Regions from separate parts of the Homo sapiens genome. Here all the other regions are linked to region 3. The links are contacts of gene promoters, found by promoter capture Hi-C in blood cells and fetal thymus (Javierre and others, 2016). All regions are on one chromosome and are shown on one strand. Each heading gives the region's core, a stretch centred on a gene start or on the middle of the fragment in contact. The rest is flanking DNA. Distances are from core to core; before and after follow the strand shown. Region 1 has its middle 32 kb from the start of UBE2D4. Region 2 has its middle 92 kb from the start of RAMP3. Region 3 holds the start of NPC1L1 (NPC1 like intracellular cholesterol transporter 1). Region 4 overlaps RAMP3 (receptor activity modifying protein 3).

Evidence for each region. The method cuts DNA at HindIII sites, captures the fragments that hold promoters and counts their contacts. A CHiCAGO score of 5 or more calls a contact.
Region 1: a fragment that was not itself captured here is called in contact with the fragment with the promoter of NPC1L1 in region 3 in 1 of 17 cell types (naive B cells); the score reaches 5.2 in naive B cells.
Region 2: a contact is called between a fragment that was not itself captured here and the fragment with the promoter of NPC1L1 in region 3, in 1 of 17 cell types (monocytes). The highest score is 5.4, in monocytes.
Region 4: a contact is called between a fragment that was not itself captured here and the fragment with the promoter of NPC1L1 in region 3, in 1 of 17 cell types (naive CD8 T cells). The highest score is 5.7, in naive CD8 T cells.

Annotation. Positions count from the first base shown.
Region 1 is chr7:43,956,719-43,959,418 of GRCh38, forward strand. It overlaps the pseudogene POLR2J4. Among named protein-coding and RNA genes, the nearest start is that of UBE2D4, 32 kb to the left of the region's middle. The HindIII fragment of the contact is 6,737 bases long and covers 1-2,700 here.
Region 2 is chr7:45,248,227-45,250,926 of GRCh38, forward strand. No RefSeq gene overlaps it. Among named protein-coding and RNA genes, the nearest start is that of RAMP3, 92 kb to the left of the region's middle. The HindIII fragment of the contact is 2,089 bases long and covers 256-2,344 here.
Region 3 is chr7:44,539,987-44,542,686 of GRCh38, forward strand. NPC1L1 (NPC1 like intracellular cholesterol transporter 1) reads right to left here and starts at 1,344. Exons shown (of 19, transcript NM_001101648.2): 1 at 1,220-1,344; 2 at 1-356. The coding sequence starts at 1,273. RefSeq lists an enhancer at 16-637. The HindIII fragment of the contact is 6,836 bases long and covers 1-2,700 here.
Region 4 is chr7:45,159,842-45,162,541 of GRCh38, forward strand. All of the region lies in intron 1 of RAMP3 (receptor activity modifying protein 3), which reads left to right. Among named protein-coding and RNA genes, the nearest start is that of RAMP3, 3.4 kb to the left of the region's middle. The HindIII fragment of the contact is 5,307 bases long and covers 1-2,700 here.

The DNA of each region.
Region 1 (2,700 bases), core at 33-2,532, 580 kb before region 3:
TCTCTTATTAAAAAAAGGAAAGGAAAAAAATTTTTCAAGAGGAAGAAAGTAACAAAGGACATATAAAACATCAGAAACCAATTAACAAAATGACAGGAATAAGTCCTCACTCATCAATAACAACCTTGAATGTAAAGAGTTCAAACTTCCCAATTAAAATATATAGCCTTGTTTAGCCGGGCATGGTGCCACATGCCTGTAATCTCAGCTACTCAGGAGGCTGAGGCAGGAGAATCACTTGAACCCGGGAGGTGGAGGTTGCAGTGAGCCAAGATCATGCCACTGCACTCCAGCTTGGGTGACAGAGTGAGACTCTATCTCCAAAAAAATACAATTAAAAAAATATATATATACACACACATAATACCCTTGCTGAGTGGGTTAGAAAAACAAGATCCAGGCGAGGCATGGTGACTCACAACTGTAATCCCCATGCTTTGGGAAGCTGAGGCAGGAGGATGTCGCTTGAGTTCAATACCAGCCTGGGCAACAGAGCAAGACCACTAGCTCTAAAAAAAAAAAAAAAAAGCTGGGCCTCGTGGCATGTGCCTGTAGTCCCAGCTACTCGGGAGGCTAAGACATGAGGGTTGTTTGAGTTCAGGAGTTGAAGGCTGCAGCTGAGTTATGATTGCCACTGCACTACAACCTGTGTGACAAAACAAGACCTTGTCTCTAAAATAAATTTTGTAAAATGAATTTAACAAAAACAAGATCCAGCTATATGCTGCCTATAAGGAACTCACTAAAAAGATGCATACAGACTAAGTGATGGGATGAAAAAAGATATTCCACTCAAATGTAAACTAAAAGCATGCAGGACTAGCTATACTTATATCAGACAAAATAGACTTTAAGTCAGTCAAAAAACAAAAAGAGAAAAGGTCATTATATAATGATAAAGGGATCAATTCAGCTAGAGGATATAACAATTGTAAATATATATGCACTCAACACTGGAGCACCCAGATATATAAAATAAATATTACTAGAGATAAAGAGAGAGATAGACCCCAGTACAATAAGTTGGGGACTTCAGCACCTACTTTCAGCATTGGACAGATTATGGTCTAGAAAATCAACATAGAGGCATGAGACTTAAAATACGCTATAGACCAATGAATCTAAGAGACATTTACAGACTATTTCATTCAACAGCTGCAGAATACATATTCTCATCAGCACATGGAACATTCTCCAGGATAGCCCATATGTTAGGCCACAAAATAAATCTCAACAAATATTTAAGAATCAAAATCCTATCAAGTATCTTATTAGACCACAATGGAATAAAAAGCAGTATGTTGCAGCCTCCAGAACTGTGAGAAACAAATTTCTGTTCTTTCTAAATTAAAAAAACAAAAAGCACTAGAAGTAAGTAACACAAGGAACTCTGGAAACTGTACAAATACATGAAAATTAAACAACACCATCCTGAAAGATCAAGGGGACAGTGAAGAAATTAAGAAGAGGCTGAGTGAGGTGGCTCACACCTGTAATCCCAGCACTTCAGGAGGCCAAGGAGGGCAGATCACTTGAGGTCATGAGTTCAAGACCAGCCTGGCCAACATAGCAACACCCCCATCTCTACTAAAAATACAAAAATTAACGGGCCAGGCATGGTGGCTCACACCTGTCATCCCACCACTTTGGGAGGCCACGGTGGGCGGATCACCTGAGCTCAGGTGTTCGACACCAGCCTGGGCAACACACTGAAACCCCATCTCTACTAAAAATACAAAAAATTAGCTGGGTGTGGTGGTGTGTGCCTGTAGTCCTAGCTACTCGGGAGGCTGAGGCAGGAGACTCTCTTGAATCTGGGAGGCGGAGGTTGCAGTGAGCCAAGATTGCACCGCTGCACTCCAGCCTGGGCAACAGAGCAAGACTCTGGCTCAAAAAAAAAACAAAAAACAAAAAAACGAAAAAGATACAAAAATTAGCTGGGTGTGGTGGCGTGCGCCTGTAATCCCAGCTACTCGGGAGGCTGAGGTAGGAGAATCGCTTGAACCTGGGGGGGCAGAGCCAAAATTGTGCCACTGCACTCCAGCCTGGGTGACAGAATGAGACTCTGTCTCAAAAAAAAAAAAAAAAAAAAAATTAGTGCCGGGCGCGGTGGCTCACGCCTGTAATCCCAGCACTTTGGAAGGTCGAGGCAGGCGGATCACGAGTTCAGGAGTTCGAGACCAGCTGATCAACATAGAGAAACCCCATCTCTACTAAAAATACAAAATTAGCCAGGTGTGGTGGCGCATGCCTGTAATCCCAGCTACTCAGGAGGCTGAGGCAGGAGAATCACTTGAACCCAGAAGGCGGAGGCTGCAGTGAGCCAAGATTGTGCCATTGCACTCCAGCCTGGGCAACCAGAGCAAAACTCCATCTCAAAAAAACAAAAAACAAAAAAAACACACAAACCTAAACTGCCTCTGTAACACTAATGAAAGGCCACCAGGTTAGAAGGATGAGAGGGGCCTGAATTTGTAGTTAAATGATTACTGCCATTATTCCAAAGGTCACAAGATTTACAACTTCCCCCAATAACTCCTGTAAATAACATCACTATTGTGGAACCTAAGATTGGCCTTTTGAGATGTCTTTTCAGGCTTTTGCATCTCTGATAACTGGATGGCCCCAGTTAGACTCCTGTGGCCCCACCCAGAAGCAGACAGCACATGAAGACCATTTTCCACAGCCCTATGACTGCAC
Region 2 (2,700 bases), core at 50-2,549, 710 kb after region 3:
AGATAAACAAAGACTGAGATAATTCATTGTTGGGGACATGACTTATAAGAAATATAATGAGAGTCTTTCAGATTGAAAAGAGAGGACACTAGACTAGCAACTCAGATCCACATGAAGAAATAAACCAGCAAAGGTTATTGTACAGGTAAAAGATAAAAGACAAAAGATAGTATAAAGATATATTTTTAAACTCTTTTCTTCCCCTAACTGATTTTAAATGACAACTGAAAAAAACAATTGCAAAATGGTGTTATAAGCTTTTAGTGTATAAAGTTGTAATTTATATGACAATTATAGCACAAAGGAGTGGGGAGAGAAGATACTATACTGAAGTCAAGTTTCTCTATACTATTGCAATAAAGTTAAGATTAAGTTAAAATATGTAATGTAATCCTCAAAGCTAGTGCCAAGAAAATGACTTAAATATTTAGTAAAGATAACAAAGGAAAATTTAAGAAATATTAGAAAAGAATAAAAATCCCAAATCAACAACCTAGGATTTTATTCAAGAATCCTAAAAATAAGAGAAAACTAAATAATTAAGATTAGAACTGAAACCAATGACATAGACATAGAAAAAATATGGAGAAAATCAGTAAATCCAAAAGTTGGTTTTTTGAGAAGATCAACAAAATTGGCTAACCTTTTTATTATTGAAAAAGAGGAAGAGGAGACACAGATCATCAAAATTAATAATGAAAAAGTGGTATTACTATTGATCTTTCAGAAAGTAGAGGATTAAAAGGGAATACTAAAAATAACTTTATGCCAATAAATTCAACAACATAGATGAAATGGATGAATTACTAGACAGACACATATTACTAAAACTGACTCAAGGAGAAATTAAAAATCTGAATAGAACTATGAGAAGTAAAAATATTTAATTAGTAACTTAAATTAGTAATTTATAAACTTCTCACAGAAAAAGCCCAGGCCCATATGGCTTCATTGGTAAGTTCTACTAAACACTTAAAGAAGAATTGACAACAATTCTTCACAAACTAGTCTAGAAAATAGAAAAAAGAGTAACAGTTCCCAACTGACTGTATGAGGCCCTGATACAAAAGTCAGTCAAACATACCACAACAACAACAACAAAAAAACGAAACTACAAACCCACATCTCTTACGAATATAGATGCAAAAATTATCAACGAAATACTAGCAAACTAAATCCAGCAAAATCTAAAAATGGTTAGACACTATGACCAAGAGGGATTTATCCTAGGACTACAAAGTCGATTTAACATTCAAAAAATCAACTAATATTAATAGAAGAAAGGACAAATGCCACATGGTCACTTCAATAGATGCAGAAAAAGTATTTGACAAAATCCAACGTCCATTCATGACAAAATACTCTCCATAAACTTGGAAAAGAAGGGAATTTCCTCAGCCTGATAGAAGTCATCTACAAAAAAACCTAAACTCATAGCAGGCGAAGATGTGTACACTTGCCACTTCTTTTCAAAACTTGCTGGAGGTTCTAGCCAGATCAATCAGGCAAAAAAAAAAAGAAAAGAAATGAAAGGTATCTACATTTGAAAGCAAGAAGTAAAACTGACTGTGTTTGCAGAAGACATAATCTTGCATGTAGAAAATCCTAAAGAATATACACACACACAAATATACACACATACAGGCTGTTAGAACTAATGATCAAGTATAACAAGGATGTACTATACAAGATCAGTTTATAAAAATCAATTGTATTTTGCCTGAACCCAGGAGGTGGAGGTTGCAGTGAGCCAAAATGGCACCACCGCACTCCAGCCTGGTGACAGAGTGAGACTCCATCTCAAAAGAAAAAAAAAAAAACCAATTGTATTTTTATTTACAAATAACCTGAAAATGAAAGTAAGAATACAATACCTCTTACAATAGCATCAAAAAGAATAACATAAGTAAGAATAAATTTATCAAAAGAAGTACAAAAATTGTATACTGAAAATTATGAAACATTATTGAAGTTGCCAGCCAAGATAAACTTAGATTCTTTCATTACTGTATACCAAAATAACTCAAAATGTATCATAGACTTTAAGGGTTAATAAAATAAAAATCTTGAAGAAAACCTAAGAGAAAATCTTTGAGACCTTGGGTTAGGCAAAGATATCTTAGATATAACACCAAAAGCACAGTTTGTAAAGGAACAAAAACTATAAATTGGACTTCGTCTTAACTTTTTTGCTTCAAAAGAAATCATTAAGGAAAGGAAAAGATAAGAACATATTTGGAAAAATACTTGAATAATAAATGCTGTTCAAAAGAAGTTCAAATCAAAAAGTTGTTCAGAAGAGAAGGAAAGCTAATGTGATAGTTCAATGAGTCGTGGAAGAAAAAGCTTTGAAGTTAGAAATATGCATTCACATTTCAGCTGAGCCATTTCCTACTTTTTTGCTTTGGGACACAATTTTCTGAGCCTGGGGATCATCAGGTCCACAGGATTGAAGGGTTGCTTGATGATTGTGGTTAGAGGTAAGCTCTTAACAAATGATGACTATTATTGTCGTAATAATACATGATATGGTCTTATTAAATAAGATAATGCATGTAAAGCACCTAGTAGTTCCTTGTGCATATTAAATATTCAAAAATGTTATCTATTATTAATCACTAAGTTATTATATCAGAATCCAAAAGGAAAGCTAAAGTATGATCATGCCCCATTTTAATTCTCTGAGTACTGTAAACCGAA
Region 3 (2,700 bases), core at 94-2,593:
ATGAAGAGGCTCTGATTGGGGCTGCACGTGTTGTGGCAGTGCAGGTTCACAAAATTGTCAGAGCAGGCTGGGCAGCGGGTGAGGAGGGCCTTGGTGATCGACAGACTCGCTTCCAGTGATACCAGCTGCTTGGCGGAGCAGCAGGCTTGGGTGTTGGGGCCGGTGTAGAGGCGGGGGCAGATCTTCTGTAATAGGATCAGGTGATCACCTGTGATCTTGCGGGCCGGCGTGTTGGACAGGCAGGACACGTTGGAGAGTGTCATGAGGCTTCCAGACAGCTCTGGGTTCTTCCCACATTCGTCATAGAAGGCGCAGTAGCCAGGCTGGTGGATGGTTGTGTAAGGCTCACTCTGGGCCTGCAGAGCACAGCAACATCACGCGTGGGCCCTGACACAGCTGGGTGCCATCCAGGCAGCAGGCAGCCAGGGAGGGTGTGAGGGTAAGAAGGACATGGAGCAGGGGCAGGGAAGCGGGGAGTGTGGGGAGTAGGAAGCCTCCTGGAGGCATGTGCCAGCCAGCCAGTGTTGGAGTGACAACACTGGCCTTTCTTCCTGGGGGTGGCCTGATAGACCTGCAGCTTAGGAAAGTCATGCTGGAGAGGCCAGAGATGGGTAAGGAGGCAAAGCTGACTCCAAGGTCCCGGGCTCTGCCCACGTCAAAGTCAGCCTGAGTCCCCACACTGTACACCACATCCAGAGGCCAGGGTCTCTCATGGAGAGTCTGTTCAGGAGGCCCCCCGACTCCCACCACCACTACCACCACCTGCTTGAGGCCAAAAGCTGTCACCCACCTCCCAGACACAAAGTAAGCGAGGAACTTAAGAGGTGCCAGCGCTGGATCTTCTCCCAGCCTCCAGAGTGCTCAGTCCTCCCTAGGTGATGCTCACCAGGTAACCCCATCCCAGCACCTCCTTGCCTCAGACCTCCCTCAACTGCAGGCCTGGACCCCACAGTAGGGCCAGTGACAGGAGGGACTTGGAGCACCCCAGTCCAGCAGCCTCTTTCACCCCTGTGTGCATTCAAGCCTGTAACCTGGAAACCCTCCACCTGCACCCCTCCTCTGTGGGGCCTGGCATCCCTCATGTGTCCAGAGACTTGCCCAGCCCGCAGGCCCTGAGGCTCCCTTGCTGTCACCCAGTAACGCTCGCCTGGTACACGGCTGGCCCCAGGGTCCCTAACTGGAGGCCGCAGGGGAGGTGGAGCCAAGCCCTGGGACTCACCAAGCGCAGGAGCAGGGCCCACAGCAGCCAGCCCCTCAGGCCGGCCTCCGCCATCCCAGGTCTGGGAAGGGGTCAGCGGGGAGCCAGGCCAGGCCTCAGGAACAGCCAAGGGCTGAACACACATTAAGGCAGCCTCCTCCCCTTCGATGACAACCCTGGCCTGACTGGGTTAGGGACCAATGAGGCTGAGCCCTGCTGGTTAATGATCCACCACTCCCACTGTTTGGCCCCAGTCCACAGGCCCCCGCTTTAGATGAGCCTCATCACGCAGGTGCTAGGGTCTCCACTCACTTCCCAAAGCGACCGAAGCCAGAGGGCTGAGTCAGCTAGGGGAGAGACCACGCTATTAGCCCCTAACACTGCTGGAGTTGGTGCCAGGGCCTGGAGGCACAGATGGGACCAGGCACTGGCTGGGACCCGGCCTCAGGAGCTCAGCATGGCCGAGGAACCTCCGCACCCTCCCTGGCTCAGCCTCAGACCCCAGCTCTGCCCTACCCCCTCTTGGGACCAGGGCCAGCAATGGGCTCAGAGGAACCCTCTGCACTGTCATCCCTAGCAACTGTTGTTAATTAATATTAACAGCCTGATAACGGAGGGGCAGGCAGGGTGGAGTGACGCAGTGACAAAAGTCCCCTCCTCCAGGAAGCAAAGGGAAAGAACAGCTCACTCTAGGGCCTGACAGTTGACAGAGACCCCAGATAGTGGAAGACTCTCCTTTGCTCACTTTGCTCTTCATCCCCTCTTCCCCCCGACCTTCTCCCTCTTGTCCCTTGCCCAGGCCTGTCCCACCGGTCACCCCTAGCAAGGGACAGAGCATGGCTGGGAGCCTTGAGCAGCAGCCCTGCTCCACCTGGGCCCAGGGGTGTGGTACACACTTTCTGCTCCCTCCTGATAGGAATCTTCAAGGCCTACCTTGGGTTCTCACTATCACCAGGATGGGCCATGACCTTTACCCCCATTTGGTAATGGGCCCCCATTACCAAAGCTGAGCTGCAGATAAGGGCAGCTTGTTGGGAACATCTCCTGCGTGGCCACCTACTGGAGACAGCTGCAGGAAGGGACCTGTCTCTAGTGTTCTGTGGACCCCTGCCTGATTCACAGGGGAGCCACCCAGCCTCATGCAGGAGAAGACAGAGGCTGAGAGGAAGGGGGCCAAGGCAGGGTCAGGCTGACCCCTAAGTTCTCAAGACAGCCATAGTGGAGAGGAAGACAGTCAGCAGCCAAGGACCTGCCCCTGTGAGTGACAGCTCCATCCAGCACCTTCCCAGCACTGCTCCCAAGTCCCTGGCCGGCAGAGGCGGACACCCCACCACCCATGAAGCTGCCTCTCTAGGTCCTCTGTTCCCGGTGTTGTCATCTAGTTCCTCCAGAAACAGATCCTGAAACAAGGATCCCAGTGCAAAGAGTTTATTGGGGAGATGACCCCAGATGACAGCAGTCGGTGAATGGGGAATGAGCCAGGGGATGGAAGAAAGCTGACC
Region 4 (2,700 bases), core at 83-2,582, 620 kb after region 3:
GAGGCTCACTCACAGCACCCAAAGATGGAGCACCATAGTGTGTGTGCCTGTGTGTGCAAGCGTATGAACATGGTACCATCGTTTTTATCATTAAATGATGTCCTGCTGCCATGTTACCTGTGGTCATATTGATTCTACTGAATCAAGTGGGCCCAAGGGCCATGGTTGGATAGCAGTAACTCTGGTGAATTAAAGACTTGGAGGTGGCCGGCCGGGTGCGGTGGCTCACGCCTGTAATCCCAGCACTTTGGGAGGCCAAGGCGGGCAGATCTCGAGGTCAGGAGATCGAGACCATCCTGGCCAACATGGTGAAACTCCGTCTCTACTAAAAATACAAAATATTAGCCGGGTGTGGTGGTGCATACCTGTAGTCTCAGCTACTCAGGAGGCTGAGGCAGAGGAATCGCTTGAACCTGGAAGGCGGAGATTGCAGTGAGCCGAGATCATGCTATTGCACTCCAGCCTGGTGACAAAGCGAGACTCTGCCTCAAAAAAAAAAAAAAAAAAAAAAAAAAAAAAAAAAAAAAAAAGACTTGAAGGTGGTGATTGGCCAAGAAGAGGCCCATAGATTTTTGGCACTGGAGGTTCCTTGGAGGTTATCTGACCTCCATGCTCTTACCTATTCTTCATAAGGAAACAGAAATCTGGAGGTTAGAGAGGAAGTTGCCCAACCACAGAGACCAGGGGCAGAACCGCCCAGAATCCACAGCCTCCCAAGGTCGACTGACCGTGGCCCATGGCAGCCACTTGCCAGTCTCGTCGATGCTCTTTCTGTCAAGGAGGGGGAGAGCGCCTGTGTTTCATTTCCAAATGACTAGCCACAAAAGCCCTTTCTGGCGGAAATGCATCTGTTTGGCTGTTTATCATCTCTCAGTGGCGTCTGGAAGTCCCTGAGACAAAAGAAACACAGGCCGGCATGTTCTTTGTTTCCCAATGAAACCAACCAAAATGGATTTCTATTTTGATTCAGTTCCTGCGACCTTTACTAATGCAGCCAGTAGCTTGATTGGCAATGGCCCTCTTTTGTGGTGTTGCCAGGAATCTGTCTTTACACCATTGTTCTAACATTGGGTGGGTTGTCAGGTTTTGCTGGGAGCCCCTCAAGCCTCATGTGCACTAGAAATGAGCTCCCTGGGGAGGGCACTTGGTTTCTCAGGGTGCCTGCCTTGTGCAGGCCCAGGGCTGGTGCTGTCACAGGCATCCTCATAGCACCTCCGTGGGTAGAGGAGTTATCCCAGAACACCTGCCTGAGGATGGCATGTGGTCCTCAAAGGCACATTTACAATCTGCCTGAGCCAGGTCCTTGCGATGGGGCATGTGAAGATTATGGAGTATGTAGAGATTTGGGGCATGCAGAGATTCAGGGAGGGGCATGTTGTCAGGGACCCCTCCTTCTCTTTTTAGATAGCTGTGCGACCTGGGTGGGTATTTGTAGAGCCGTGGGGGAGGGGCTGGGCAATGCCCTGGCACTGGGGGTGGTGGGGAATTGATGCTGTCTTTGCCTGGCTCAGTGAGGGAGATCAGGGGCTCAGGGAGAATAATAGTTGCCTGAGGGTAATGAATACTTATCAGGACCTTGTCCCTGAGCTGTGTTTCAGAGCATCATAGTTAATGTGAAAATGTGGCAGACACAGGCCCTGTGTAGGGAGGTGGGCTGTAGGAACAGCCATGACTTGGGCTGGCTGCGGCAAATACCTCCAGGAAAGGGCTGGGGAGGAGAAGGCAGTGGTTCAGATTCATTCTGACTTCCAAGAAGAGGAGGAAGGAAGGAGAGGAGAGGAAACAGGGGAGGGGGAGGAGGGTAAAGAAGGACAGGGGAAGGAGGAAGAGAGGAAGAAGGGGAAGGAGGGGGAGGCAGAGGAGGAAGAAGAACTGGGCTGGGTCTCGGTGGCCTGATAGGTGACAGTCAGAGTAGGCTGAGGGGGGACCAGGCCAAGTGGTCCAGGTCTAGGGGTTCAGATTCAGACCTAGGGGTCCAGGTGGACCAGGCTGCAGGTGTGGGCACTGGCCAGGAGGGACAGGGTGGGGCTAGCCTGGCTCGTGCCCATTGGGATGGTGGGCGGAGCTCAGGAGACCCACCCAAGGGTGCTGAGAGAATCTGTTAGGGAGTGACGCCAGACCCAGGGGTGAGGACAGGAGCTGGATGTGGAGAGCAGCTAGGCGAACCTTCAGAGTCCAAGGCAGGGGCAGCTTTAGGGTGAAGGTGCACAGGCCGCCTTAGTCCTCGTGTGACTCCACGTGGTCCCTGGGGCTTGCACCCCTTGGTCACTTATGCCAGGGCTGTCTTTTCACCTGCAGGCAGGTGCAGTTGAGCAGGGTGGCAGAGGGAGGCCTTGGGAAAGTCGCTTTCTTTTGGGCCTCCATCGTCCCATCTCTAAACTGAGGGAGGTGGTGAAGGAGGCATGATGTTTTTCAGGCCCTTCCCAGGATCAATGCCGACCTGTACTCCAGAATCTGTTGCAGAGCCCAGGCTTGACATGGAGCTTGGAAGTGCCCACTGGGAGAGAAGGAAAGGAAGGTGGGGATCGGGGACCAGGGCTAAGTGGGGCCACTCCAGCCAGGAGCCCTCAGGGCAAGGAGGTGAGCCTTGGATGCAGCCCTGCTTGGCAGACCAAGGGTGGGAATTGGAGTGAGGGTGTCAGTGTGAGGCAATGGTGACATGCCACCTGGAGACAGCTCTGTGGGCAGGTGGCCTGGCTT